Regions from separate parts of the Homo sapiens genome. Here regions 1, 3 and 4 are each linked to region 2. Evidence: promoter capture Hi-C in 16 types of primary human blood cells and fetal thymus (Javierre and others, 2016). All regions are on one chromosome and are shown on one strand. The core of a region is centred on a gene start or on the middle of the fragment in contact, and the rest is flanking DNA. Distances in the headings are between cores, read along the strand shown.

Evidence for each region. Contacts are between HindIII fragments. The CHiCAGO score rates a contact against its expected background, and 5 or more counts as called.
Region 1: a fragment that was not itself captured here is called in contact with the fragment with the promoter of ATP11B in region 2 in 1 of 17 cell types (M1 macrophages); the score reaches 6.2 in M1 macrophages.
Region 3: the fragment with the promoter of ABCF3 here is called in contact with the fragment with the promoter of ATP11B in region 2 in 4 of 17 cell types (neutrophils, fetal thymus, naive B cells and 1 more); the score reaches 12.0 in neutrophils.
Region 4: a fragment that was not itself captured here is called in contact with the fragment with the promoter of ATP11B in region 2 in 5 of 17 cell types (naive CD4 T cells, naive B cells, M0 macrophages and 2 more); the score reaches 7.6 in naive CD4 T cells.

What each region holds. Positions count from the first base shown.
Region 1 is chr3:181,690,018-181,693,181 of GRCh38, forward strand. All of the region lies in intron 5 of SOX2-OT (SOX2 overlapping transcript), which reads left to right. Among named protein-coding and RNA genes, the nearest start is that of SOX2, 20 kb to the right of the region's middle. The HindIII fragment of the contact is 3,000 bases long and covers 1-2,960 here.
Region 2 is chr3:182,791,886-182,795,254 of GRCh38, forward strand. ATP11B (ATPase phospholipid transporting 11B (putative)) reads left to right here and starts at 1,619. Exons shown (of 30, transcript NM_014616.3): 1 at 1,619-1,901. The coding sequence starts at 1,875. ATP11B-DT (ATP11B divergent transcript) reads right to left here and starts at 1,479. Exons shown (of 3, transcript NR_187316.1): 1 at 1,195-1,479. RefSeq lists a silencer at 1,454-2,203. The HindIII fragment of the contact is 13,212 bases long and covers 1-3,369 here.
Region 3 is chr3:184,184,237-184,187,580 of GRCh38, forward strand. It overlaps ABCF3 (ATP binding cassette subfamily F member 3), which reads left to right and starts at 1,963. Exons shown (of 21, transcript NM_018358.3): 1 at 1,963-2,044; 2 at 2,271-2,418; 3 at 2,560-2,639; 4 at 3,161-3,207. The coding sequence starts at 1,972. RefSeq lists enhancers at 756-1,470, 1,948-2,267. The HindIII fragment of the contact is 6,180 bases long and covers 331-3,344 here.
Region 4 is chr3:180,937,379-180,940,781 of GRCh38, forward strand. The region is part of intron 3 of FXR1 (FMR1 autosomal homolog 1); the gene reads left to right. Among named protein-coding and RNA genes, the nearest start is that of FXR1, 26 kb to the left of the region's middle. The HindIII fragment of the contact is 2,077 bases long and covers 432-2,508 here.

The DNA.
Region 1 (3,164 bases), core at 211-2,710, 1.1 Mb before region 2:
AATATCTAATATTTGCAGATATCCTTATTTCATTACTTTGCTCCAAATATTTAAAACCAGATGAAAAAAAGTAATGTCCTTAAGGAGTCAAATTCATTATTAAAATAAGATATTTTCCAAGTTGTTTGGAAAATGGTTTACTTTCTTTTTTTCCCCCTTTACTAGACCTCAAAATACACTGAGTTTTCCTCACTGGTAAAGAAATAAAACATTGAGAAGTATCAAGTGAATCCACTTGAACAGGCTTCAAAACCATACCACTAACGTATTATTTTAAAATGTTTCTCTAAGACGCATTTATTACAAGGGAACACTCTTTAGGAAGCATTAACACTCACAGTCCCTAAATTTTAAATTGGTCCCTAATATTCCATTTGGTAATCAATATCCTCCTTTGCTCCTCCCCCACCCTCTCAGATGGCCTTATTCTCTGTCAGTATCTATCACATTTTCTTTTTTCTTTTATCACCTTCTTCATTCTTAATCCTTCCTTTTGGGCCAAGCTGTCTGCCCTTTATAGCTATATTTACTTCCTCCTTCTCTTTCCCCTTTAACTCTTTGTAGACCTTTAGATTATGAATGCTGAAATTTGTGATTCATTGTTTTTGCCTTATTGACCTCCTATTAATAAAATTTGCCTCCTCCACAAGATTATTCTAAGAAAGCATACTTTTAAGCATCCACAACTATTGCCCAAAGAGAGACAACCATTTGGTTCAACTTCATATGTGTTAAGCCAAATGTATTCAAAAATGATTTCCTACTCCGATTCTTATTCAGTATTTTCTGTGATTCTCCTTTATTATACCTTTCTAGTGCAATGGAAACTTCAGCTATCTGTGGTCTAGTCTGAACTGTACCTGGGGTAGTGACAATGGCCTTCTGACCCTATGGCTCTTCCTGACTGTGGATAGAATTGATAGCACTTTTTCAATTTCTCCCTTGTCTTTGCTTGAACATACTGGAATTACAACCTCTGACAAAGGTAACATCCCTTTTGTAGTGGAAACAAAAGGGGTGTGTAATGAATTGGTTAAGATTACATTGCATGTTTAGATGATGAAATCCAACTGCAGCTCAATTCCTTTATTTCCTCTCGCTGGACCTGGTCTTTCAATAAGACATTATTGACTGGCATCTTCCCCAGAACAGGTGCTTAGGAATATAGTCTTGCTGCTTTGAGTCCTTTAGACTGGAAAACAACTATGGAATAGGTCAAGAGAATCAGGTATGAGACAATAATGCCCAGTATCTTAGGACATCCACTGTAGATGATTCATATCCAGGTGGTATTAATGGAATAAAGGGTCCTTAGACTTATATGGGGAGCTAGAGCTTTTCAAATTAACTAAGGTGGCAGGATATGAGTTACAGGTTTATTTGCCATTTTTCTGCAAAAATTCTATGACCAGGAGGAGATAGAGGAGGAAGGCAATTTTTAAAATAATTCACCACTATAGATTGTGCTATAATGATATTATAAAAGGAATTTTTAATTTTTATGAAGATGAAATCAATGCCACAATGTGTGGTATTAACAAATGCTATCTTTTTACCACAAATCATATCACCTTTGGTTACTCTGGATAGCAAATTATTGGCCTCTTTCTTCTTTTTCCCTTAAATTACTTTGGCTTGTGGTTTGTCTTTTTTTTTATTTTTCAAAAACAAGATCGCTTACAATTTTTGCTTTTAAAAATGATATAATACCCATATTGGCTGCAGAAAATATTTAAAATGTGTGCTTTTCAAAGAATGATCAGATCATTTATTCATCTTTAGATAAAGATGATTATATTCATCTCAATTATTTTTGCCAAGGACTGTAACACTAATTTTACTCTTTCTAAAAATTAAAATAGCAAACAGTTTATATAAGGTGTTGATAATTACCTATATTATTGTACTGCTGTGACAGATGTTGGCAAAAAAGCCTAAAATGCCTACAGCTGTGCACTCCATGACATCTAGTTTATACTCAGACAGAAGGCTAACAGATGTTCTGAACTGTCACTTTGCCTAAATGTTTTTAAAGTCTAAGGACCTGCTTTATAATTCGCCGGAGTCTGGTTTGGTTTCACAGAGGTTCTCAGAATTCCCATCTGTGACAATTAATGCTGAAGACATTGATAAATCAACCCTTGTGTTTTCTCTCTTCTTTAACAGACATCAGTTTATACATGGATGGTAGATTGTGAAGGCTGTTTTTATATACATCCTGTTTGTAAAATTATCTCCTTAAACACAGATAGAATTGGGCTATAAGAATACATGGAGGTTTGTTTTGAGCCATGGAAAGGGCCAGGAAATCACCTATTATTTTCTTTCTGCTAAATTTTATGCACCTTGGAAGTAAAATGTTAACCATTTCCAATGACAATTTTCCAAAGTTATATTTGTTCTAGTGAATAAAAAAAGTTTTTATTTTTATTCAGCATGTTAACAGTTCTGCTCATAACAATAACTCTTAATTGTGCAGCCTGTTAGAAAAATGAAAGAAGACAATAAATGGCATTGAGAAAGGACACAGCACATCTTCTCCAGCTTGACACCCTAATACTTCCTCTTCCCAAACATACCTTCAGATCCCTCATACAGAATTACTGCCCCGTGCAAAGGCCATCAATGCCTTATTTGCTGTTGCTCTTAATTTTAACAAGCTGGATTCCTGTAGTACACTTGCTTAATAGTTTAAACATTCTGTTAACAATCAGGTGTTTGGCCTATCCTGTTTCTCCTCTATTCTGTAAAGAAATATAACTCCAAATAGTACATCTTTCTGGGTTTGTTTCTAAATTAGTCCCCACACTTAATTATGAGGATGAGAGGGATGCCTTATTCCTCTTTGTTATAGGCTAAGCTCTCAGTAATCCCAAACAAAAGAGCCAGTTCTGGAAGATATAGGATTTGCTAGCAGGATTATGGTCTCATAGATAATGATGTGCAGTCAGCAGAAGCGAAGCTTTATTTTAATTCAAATAAGCTAGTAAACAAACCACTGACAAGTCTGCTGGTGAGAGTAACTGGCTGCTGTTGCCACATTGGCAGCAAAATTATAGAAAATCTATTATACCCTGTTCACCATATGTTTAATTTAATACAAGATACAAATTAAACTATTCACAGTGCCTATTAAAATAACAATACTTTTTTATATTTGAATG
Region 2 (3,369 bases), core at 369-2,868:
ATGAATGGACACAGTGCTCCATGAATGGCAGTAAGGTTTTGTCACTAAATATATCTCAAAACTTCCTTTTAGGGTCATAAAGTAAGGTTTAGCCACAAGAATAAAAGTAAGATGACTTTTCAAATATCTAGCTATTTTTTGAAGTTGGATGATTTATAATATAAAATTCCATGTTGGTTTTACAGATCATAAATATCCCCAAAGAAAGATTCTATTTGTGGTGCTGGATAAGCATTATATAGTAAGAAATGTCTACTGAAACTAGAAGATTGAGGATGCATATTCAACGACCTGCCTAGTCATGCTAATCTCATTTAGATTTGTTCTTGCTTAATTTTTTTTTTTTTTTTTTTTTTTTGAGACGGAGTCTCCTTCTGCCGCCCAGGCTGGAGTGCAGTGGCGCCATCTCGGCTCACTGCAAGCTCTGCCTCCCGGGTTCACGTCATTCTCCTGCCTCAGCCTCCCGAGTAGCTGGGACTACAGGCGACCGCCACCACGCTCGGCTAATGTTTTGTATTTTTTAGTAGAGATGGGGTTTCGCCATGTTAGCCAGGAAGGTCTCGATCTCCTGACCTCGTGATCCACCCGCCTCGGCCTCCCAAAGTGCTGGGATTACATGGGATTACAGGCGTGAGCCACCGCGCCCGGCCGCTTAATTTTTTTTTTTTTAACCACAAACGTCTGTCGGTGAAGTGTGCTTTAATTCAGCAAAAATACAGCATTCAATACATATACATAACACAATATGTATACGGGGCTGCTTTTAAACAACGCCAAACCTTTAAGTCAAAGCCTTGTTCCAGTTGCTTGTATATTCCTTCTGAGCTTGTCATCCACACACTTTTTTAACCTAGGTCAAGTTACTGCTACGGGTGTTTTTGATTGCAGAAGTTTGGCAGTTAGCAGTAAAGAACTACCTTTTTATACAAATTATCTTCCCCTGAACCTGTCCAATTTAGCACACGGCAAGACAGAATATCTCATCCATTCGCCTAGAAACACGGGTCCAGGCTGTACCAGGCTCAGGGGACTTGCAACGCTTTCGAATCACTTAATGGGTGTGATCAAGATTTCCCTAGCCCCGTCTCAGCCATTTGCTAAAGAAGAGGCCTGACTTGTGTTGAGACGAAAGCTCTTACAGCTTGATGGAACCCAAACTGGGACTTCTGGGGGGATTAACTTTCAGTCACATACGTTCAGGACTGTGCGTATGCGTGTCGGGAGACGCGTGAACCAAAGAAGCCACAGAGCCCGAAAAAGACCTGCAACAGGAGGTAGAGACCGAGGAATCGGCCCCAAGCTGCAGACTCCGGAGATGGCCAGACCCACAGACACGACTTAATCCCACTCCCAGAACGGGGAGGAGGGTGGCAGTGGACAGAAACAGCGTTCGAGAACCCGGCACCTTTCCACGCTCGCTTCTTCCCGGACCCACAACACAGAAACCCCCCAACTCGGAACGGCGGCGGGGCGCGCCAGGCCCCCCTCGGTCCGCGCACCCCCTTTCGTCACGTCCGGGGGCGGGCCGGGGCGCCGGGGGCGGTCCCGGGTGGAGCCGGGGGGCCGGGCGGGGCGGGGCGGGGGTGGGGTTGCGGGGGTGCTTTGGGTGACAACGGTCAATAATGAAGGTGGCTGCGGCGCGGCGGCAGGCTCAGCTGCGCCGGGCGGGGGCGGCGCCGGGGCCGCGCCTGTAGGACTCGGGGCCGACGCCGCGGGATGGGGACGCGGCGCGGGGAGTGAGGCAGTGGCGGCGGCGGCGGTAAGCGGAACTTCGGCCCGAGGGGCTCGCCCGCTCCCGCCTCTGTCTTGTCGGCCTCCACCTGCAGCCCCGCGGCCCCCGCGCCCCGCGGGACCCGGACGGCGACGACGGGGGAATGTGGCGCTGGATCCGGCAGCAGCTGGTAGGTGCCCCCGCCCCTCCACCTCCATTCGTCCGCCCCCGCGGGGCCTCTCGGCCCGGGGTGGCGGGGAAAGGCCGGCGGCGCGGAGCCGGGAGGCCAGGGCGTGGGCGCCCGGCTAGGCCGCAGCGGAGACGGGCGCGGGGCCCAGAGCCGGAGAAGCCCCGTGCGGCTCCCGGGCTCGTCTCGCCTCCAAGCCCGGGCCGCCGAGGCTGGCGCCGAGCGGCCGGAGGCGGCCGCTTCTAGCCGGCGCTTCTCCGTTACTTCTTCCCCCTTGCCGCTCCGGGGCTGCTGTGGCCAGAGGCGGGAGTCCCGAGCGGGGTGGCGGTGCCCCCAGAGGAAACAGGGCGAGGGAGCTGAGCGAGAGTAGGTCTTGGGGAGATGAGAGAGGCGTGCTCTTCCTGCCTCGAACAATTTGGGACGTGTTTGGGTGAAGGGGAAGCGAAGAACCTGTCTTCTGCCCCCACTCGTCACGGACTTCTGGAAGCGTGTCACGATCCAGAGCTGTGTTGATTCCCGAGGAGGAGGCTGTCGTAGGTGTCTAGCCCCCTCAGCGAGAGACGTTTCTCCCCAGGACCTGGAAAGGGGAAAGACTGTGCCAGCTGCCGGTCTAGCTTCGGAAACGATACGTATTGTACGATAGTTACGAACGATACGTACTGTCGTTTCCTTCCTACCTCGTCCTCACCCCACCCCGAGTGAAACTTTTCGAGTGTGAACCTTACTTTTTTCCCGTTCTCCTCAAGGCAGTTTGAACGACACAGGTTTGGAAGGAATAGTTAACTCTCCAGTATTATTGGAACATCTGGACACCACCAACAAAAAATCTTAGAAAAGGGTCATTTAAGGCCTATAAAAAGTGCCACCTTTCCCAGAATTAATTCAGAGAGAAAAATCTTATCTGCCTCCTGGCAGCTACAGCGCAGAAAGTACAGCATTAAGGCAGCTGTGACAATTAGGACAGAAATTGCCCCTGGCTGAAGAAGCCTAACCTTATCTGTGTGATGAGGCCGGTTACTATTTAATTTCTAAATCGCATTAACTTAATGCTTCTACAAGTTGGCGTTTTCATTTACTAATTCTAAAGGCAGTGGTAAAATTTAGTGAAACAGGAACTATTTTTGTGGGACGAAAGCACTGATAACTCTTTTTCCCTTCTGCTCTAGAAAAGCATTTTAACGTTAAGACCAAGAAGTGTGGTGTTTCAGAGCCAGCCTTCTGTTACTTCGTTTTGCAGCGGGCATCATTCTCAAAAAAAAAAAAAAATTATAAATAAGAACTGCCTACCACTCCCTCCTACAAATGTTGGGTCTCTGTTTTTAGCATTGTAAATTCAGATATCCCAGATATATGCTTTATTAGGAAACCAAGCTAATGATGTCATTATAATACCATCTTGTAATACTTTGGCTTTGTTGCAGTAAGCTGTAGCACAGTAATTTTACTCAGAAAGTTAATTATTACAGATTTG
Region 3 (3,344 bases), core at 713-3,212, 1.4 Mb after region 2:
TTGTGGGTTCTGGGCCCAGGTTTCCTGGCTCCTCTTAGAAAGCCTCAAGGGCATGCAGCCGCAGCGGGCCCCAGTACCCTGGGGATAGATTCTTTCCCTAGCTCCTTTTTATTCCCCCTGGTCCTCGGACTCCTAGGCTCAAGAGATCTTACCTGCCCCAGCCTCTGGAGTAGCTGGGATCACAAGCACGCACCACCACAGCACCCAGCTCTTTCTCTAATTCTTAGGCAGATGTTTTCTAATTAGATTAAGCATAAATTAAGTGTGAAGTTTACATTTGGTCTTGTAGCCATCCTAAGAAATTGACCTTTTAATTCCATCATTTACCCAAGCTTCCCAAATCTTGCTGACTGGGTGGTAGGAGGAAAGATTTGCAAGGAGAATAACATAATGGACTGGGCGCGGTGGCTCACACTGTAATCCCAGCACTCTGGGAGGCCGAGACGGGTGGATCACCCGAGGTCCGGAATTCGAGACCAGCCTGACCAACATGGGGAAACCTCGTCTCTACTAAAATTACAAAATTAGCCGGGCGTGGTGGTGCATGCCGGTAATCCCAGCTATTCGGGGGCTGAGGCAGGAGAATCGCTCGAACCCAGGAGGTGGAGGCTGCGGTGAGCCAAGATCACGCCACTGTACTCCAGCCTGGGCAACAAGAGCGAAACTCCTTCTCAAATTAAAAAAAAAAAAAAAAAGAATATAATGAATCTCCATGTCTCATCACCCAGCTTCAACTATGATCAATGCGTGGCCAGTTCCTTAATATCACATCCAGTTTGTGTTCACTTAACCAGGTGTCTTATCAAATTTTTCCAGATAAGGTCCATTGTGGTTGGTTAATGCTCCTCAAATTTTAAAAATTGATGTTTCCCTTCAGGTCTTGCAATTTTGTGGAAGAAACCAGAGTTCTGTAGTTTACCACATCAGAATTTGCCTGTTGTCCCCATGAAGTCACTTAACATATTCCTCTTTACCTGTATTTCCTGTAAAATGGTTCAATATCGGGATTGATGCCTCATGATGGCAATGTTTAATCCAAAGGGATGAATGGGTAATAATGTAATTTTCGGTGCCACTTTTAGAGACCAATTGGAGGAATATTCACGTTAAATATAAAGCAGTAGCATCATTTTGGAGGAAATTCCTAACTTCCCGAGGGAATCGGTGAAAGGAAATAGCCTTTTATTGGCATTTATTGAGTGCAGAGAAGTCTGCTCAGGGTGTAGGTAGGGAATAATTTATACAGGCCACGTTGTCCTGGTTTTCTTGCCCTTTGGCGGTGGATTTGGTCGTGCCCTGGGGTGGTGGAAGAACTGAATGGGCTTAATTCACAAAGGTCGGCTGAATTACACAGTGAAAAGGCGGTCGCGGCGGGGAGGCGGGTGGCGCTGGCCACCAGGCTGAGAAGCCCGTAGGGTCTGGGGACCCGCGAAAGCAAAGCACTGAGCAGGGGGCTTCTGAGAGTCAGGGACCGGGGTGAGTCAGCAAAGCTCTGGGCAGGCTCCAAAATGGGCCTGACTGGGTACGCACCAGCAGCAGACGCGCCTCGAGGGAGCGCATAAAACCTGGCAAAGCCAAAGTGCTTTATCAGCCGCCTGCCTCTTGGGAGGCTCCCACCCGCCAGACCACGGGTGCCTCGCGGCCCCGATAAACCTTGAGCTCCCAGCCTTTGCCCCACCCCTCGCTCCCGGAACTCCACCTCCCAGAAGGCAGCGAGAACCGCACATGTGGCTAATCTTTCAGCGGAAAAGGTGTCGCGCACGCGCAGAGAGCGCGGCTCCGGCGCAGACTCGGCGCCTCTCCTCAAGGCCCCGCTCGCCCCGCCCACCGGGCTCTGCGCACTCCGCTCCTTTCCTGCGTCACCGCTACACATGCGCCTTGCAAGGAAGGGCGAGATTTCGGGGGCAGGGCGGGGGGCGGGCCTAGGCCGGGGTCTCACAGCGACTGCGCGGACGGGTTCCTGAGTGGAACATGGCGACTTGCGCCGAAATCCTGCGGAGCGAGTTCCCCGAAATTGACGGACAAGTCTTCGACTACGTGACCGGTAAGCAGAACTGAATCGGCCGGCTGGGGAGACCGAAGTGGAGGCCGGGGGAAAGTCTAAGCGAGCGTCGTGCCCGGGACTGTTGCCAGGCCTCTCCTCTGCATGACCTCTTGTCCCGGGGGCTGGTTGGGTCTGGAGCCTGGACTGGGGCCTCTGTCTGGGGTCTGAAACTGCTTGTGTGTCCACCCTACCCGATACCTTCCTCGTTCTACCACGCCCTGCCCAGGCGTCTTGCACAGCGGCAGCGCGGACTTCGAGTCTGTGGATGACCTGGTGGAAGCTGTAGGGGAACTATTGCAAGAGGTGTCCGGGGACAGCAAGGATGACGCGGGCATCAGGGCCGTGTGCCAGCGCATGTACAACACTCTGCGTCTGTATGTGCCAGGGAGTAGGGGTTGATGGGGGCGAAGGGACGGCGAACGGTCCGGAGACAAGAGGTGGGGGAGGAAGATCTGATGGCCATAGAGCTTTTCCCTCAACTCCTAACTCTGCGCTTTCTATCCCTACCCACATAGGGCTGAGCCACAAAGCCAGGGAAATAGCCAGGTGCTACTGGACGCCCCTATCCAGTTGTCAAAGATAACGGAGAACTACGGTGAGAGTGAGGGGAGGTTGAACTAACTGCCCCCCTGTGCTTTTCTCCGCCCCCAACCATCTGCTGCCTGCAGCTTAGGGCTCCTACGTCTTTTCCACAGGACAAGGTTGTAGGAGCTAGTTGATGTCTTTACCGAGGGCAGAAGAGCCCATGATGGGGGTGGGGAGGAGGTTGGAGGGTTCTCCCTCCAAGCTCTTGGGTAGGATAGGAAGCATAAGAGCCTGGAGCTGGACAGACTTGCTTTCACCCCCAGTTTTGCAACTTGCTAACCAGCTGCATGATCTTGTAAGAGTTGGTTATCTGTCCCCAGCCTTGTCTATGCCTCTGTATCCTTCTACGTGAGTTTTGTTTTGTTTTGTTTTGTTTTGTTTTTAGTGCAGGGAAGATAATAGCCATCTATCTGCAGTATTATAAGGTTTTGTAGAAAACATCTGTGTCTGTGCCTGGTTCCTATTAGTCACTCAAAATGTTAGTTTCCCTTCCCTCAGGGAGAAGGTGACTGCTTTTCTTATCGCTTACAGACTGTGGAACCAAACTTCCAGGACTGCTAAAGAGGGAACAGTCCTCGGTGAGGAGGAGGAAGCAAGGGAGGGGACTGTCTGTGATGGGGTTGGGAGTTGACTGTCTAATTGGAGTATCTTTTGGGGGGATTTCTGACTATGTCTTTTCCTGAGCCTTTGAGTCTGTTCATCATGGGTAAGTTAA
Region 4 (3,403 bases), core at 220-2,719, 1.9 Mb before region 2:
TACTTTTTCCATTCCTGTCCAGGAGGGTCCTTCCCTGTTCCTGAACAGTCTGGCTCACCCCTGTGGTCTGCCTCCGCTTTTGTGAAGAAGACATTGGTGTTAGAGATTGAATGATTTAGAAATTGAATCTAGAGTTTTTTTTAAATTTCACGTTATGTTTTATGATTCAGCTCTGGTCAAATTTGCTCTCTAGAATTTTGTAAGTCATTATCTGAAATTAAAATGTGATTTTTTTTCACTTTTGAAAAATTTAAAAATTAATATAAGGAAAAAGTTTAAGCATAATCTTGCCACCCATAGGATTTTGTTTTTTTGTCACCGTTTATTAAGGATTTATCCATATTACGTAGAGTGTTTAGAAATTCGGAGTTAGTGCTTTCCCAGGTAACGTTTCGAAAGCCTCTTCCCCTTCTTTAAATTTAAAGTAATAAAGCTTAATGTAAAAAATGAAATGGTAAAAAATTATATAAAGTACAAAGTAAACCTTCCATCTTAATGTAGGTGTACTTGTCCACCCACCCTATCTTAAATCTCATTTACCAGAGTTGATTCTCTTGTAAGTTTTTTATTTGCATGTATAAAGGACATATTTAAGTTGAAAAAAAATTGGGATTAAGTTATATATTTGTGACTTTTGTATTCACTTAATTAGGACAGCAAACATTTTCGTGTCTTCTCATTTAAATTTACCTCATTTTTTGTAACCACCTCAAAATTATTTGGTGTGGATATATCAAATTAAAAGACATTGAAATTACCAGATTTTTTGCTGTTAGCAAAAGAAAACAATGCCAGAGTTAAAGTTAATATTCTTATGCAAGTCTGGTAGTATAATTCCTAAGAGGTTAATGTTTTTAAAAGTATTAAAATGTACCATTTCATCCTCCAAAAATGTCTTCAGAATTACTTTATACTTTTATTAACACTGGAGGTATCTTTTTCATACATTAAGTGACTGTATTATATTGTTCATATGTACAGTTTTGTAAACTTGGTGGATGGAAACTGATGTCTCATGAATTCTCATTTCCTTAATGAATAGTAGTATGGGAACATCACTTAAATTAGTTGGTTGGCTCTTAACCCCTTGTTCTGTGAATTGTCTATTTTTTGTTTGTGCAGTTTTTGGTGTAGGAAGTCCTTGCATTTTATGGCTGAGTTTTATTTTTTTATTTTATTTTATTTTTGAGATGGAGTTTTGCTCCTGTTGCTCAGGCTGGAGTGCAATGGTGCGATCTCGGCTCACTACAACCTCCACCTCCCGGGTTCAAGCGATTCTCCTGCCTCAGCCTCCCTAGTAGCTGGGATTACAGGCATGCGCCATCATACCCGGCTGATTTTGTATTTTCAGTAGCGACGGGGTTTCTCCATGTTGGTCAGGCTGGTCTCAAACTCCCGACCTCAGGTGATCAGCCTGCCTTGGCCTCCCAAAGTTCTGGGATTACAGGTGTGAGCCACTGTGCCCAGCCCTGAGTTTTTATCTTTTTTGTGTTTTTTTCTTAGGCAATTTTTTTATTTTTTATTTTTTATTTTTTGAGATGGAGTCTCACTAAGTTGCTCAGGTTGGAGTACAGTGGCACAATCTCAGTTCACTGCAACCTCCACCTCCCGATTTTAAGTGATTGTCGTGCCTTGGCCTCTGAGTAGCTGGAATTACAGGTGTGAGCCACAATGCCCAGCTAATTTTTTTATTTTTAGTAGAGATGGTGTTTTGTGATGTTGGCCAGGCTGGTCTCGAACTTCTGGCTTCAAGTGAACACCCGCCTCGGCCTCCCAAAGTGCTGAGATTATAGGCGTGAGACACTGCGCAGGCTTACTTTTACATTTTTAAATTATGTTTTCTACATCTGCTTCCCTGCACTATTTTTCCCTTATACCGGTGGGGGGGTGTGGGTGGTAATCCTTTTAGGTTGCTTCATATCTGATCGCCTTAGTTATGAAATGTAATTTTTTGGTCAATAAACACTTTTTCTTAAAATTTTTCTGGGATTGTGCAAAATAGCAGAGGTAAACTGTCATTCTTCAATCATACTTAGAGATGGTCAGGCTCGATTGTTTACTGGTTTATTATAAAGGATACAAGTCAGGAACTGCCAAATGAAAGAGATGCATGAGGCAAGGTCGGGGTGAGGGAAGGGGCTTGGAAAGTAGAGCTTCCATGACTTCTTTGAGCATGCCACATTTCCAGCCCATCAATAGATTCACCAGCCCGGGAGCTCTACCATCATACTTTTTAAACAGATTATTTCAGAGTCACAAAACGGTTTGTGTCCTCTTCTTAACTGTGTGAATACTTTATTAGCTTGTCCAAGGTTAGTCTGGAGGTTGGGAAGCTGATAACCAGTTTCATTTTTTGTTTTTCCAAATGTATTCAGAGGGTTTGGTCAGTTTTGTGCCAGACTCACAACATTCTTCTGCAGCTCTAGGAATCCTTTGAAGGAAAGAAAAGGTGACTTTGCCCTTAGTAATAAATTTAGAACAAAAATGATCCAAGAGAGAGCTTTATTAAGCTTGTAAGGTGATTTTTAAAGACTTGAGCCATAAGAAATTTCCATTCTTGTAGGTCAGAAATGGTTAAGTATTGACAGTTTCATATGGTTTACACTAACATTTTGTTACATTAAAAATATATTGGTTGCTTAAATACAGGGTTTGCCTTTCTAGCCCCTTAGGAAATTTACATGAAGTTACAGCACATAAAGTAATGTCATGGCCCAGCAGTGGACCCAAGAAGACAACATATGATTTATAGTAGAAAGTTAATTTTGAAAAGGTCTAAAATGGAAATATTTATTTTTATACCTAATTAGTGGTTTTTTATTTGCCTTTTAAAAATGGTGTCATCTCTTTAAAAATCTTCATAACACTTAATAGTAAATATTTCATAAGTATTTGCTTAATGATTGATTTTTGCTGACTAAAGATTGCTAGAAAAATATGCTCCGCCTGTAAAGTTTGAAGGTAATGTGAAAATGAAGAGTTCTTTAGATTTCGTTTACATTGGGTATCTAGTACAGTGTTTTGGGCTCTTGGAAGGGCAGTAGAAATATCCCTCCTCCCTCATTTCACATGTAACATTTTTGCTTTTTATTTTAGATATCTGCCTTGCTCAGCAAGTAATATATAAGCAACACACATAGACACGTTACATAGTAAGCCTGACATCTAAGGTGATAACGTGTTTAGTTTTTGTTTTTTTCTGTTTTCTTTTTTTTTTGGAGATGGAGTTTCGGTCTTGTCCAGGCTCTAGTGCAATGGCGCCATCTCGGCTCAGCGCAACCTCCGCCTCCTGGGTTCAAGTGATTCTCCTGCCTCAGCCTCCCAAGTAGCAGAGATTACAGGCATGTGCCACCACACCCAGCTAATTTTGTATTTTTGGTAGAGACGGGTTTTCTCCACATTG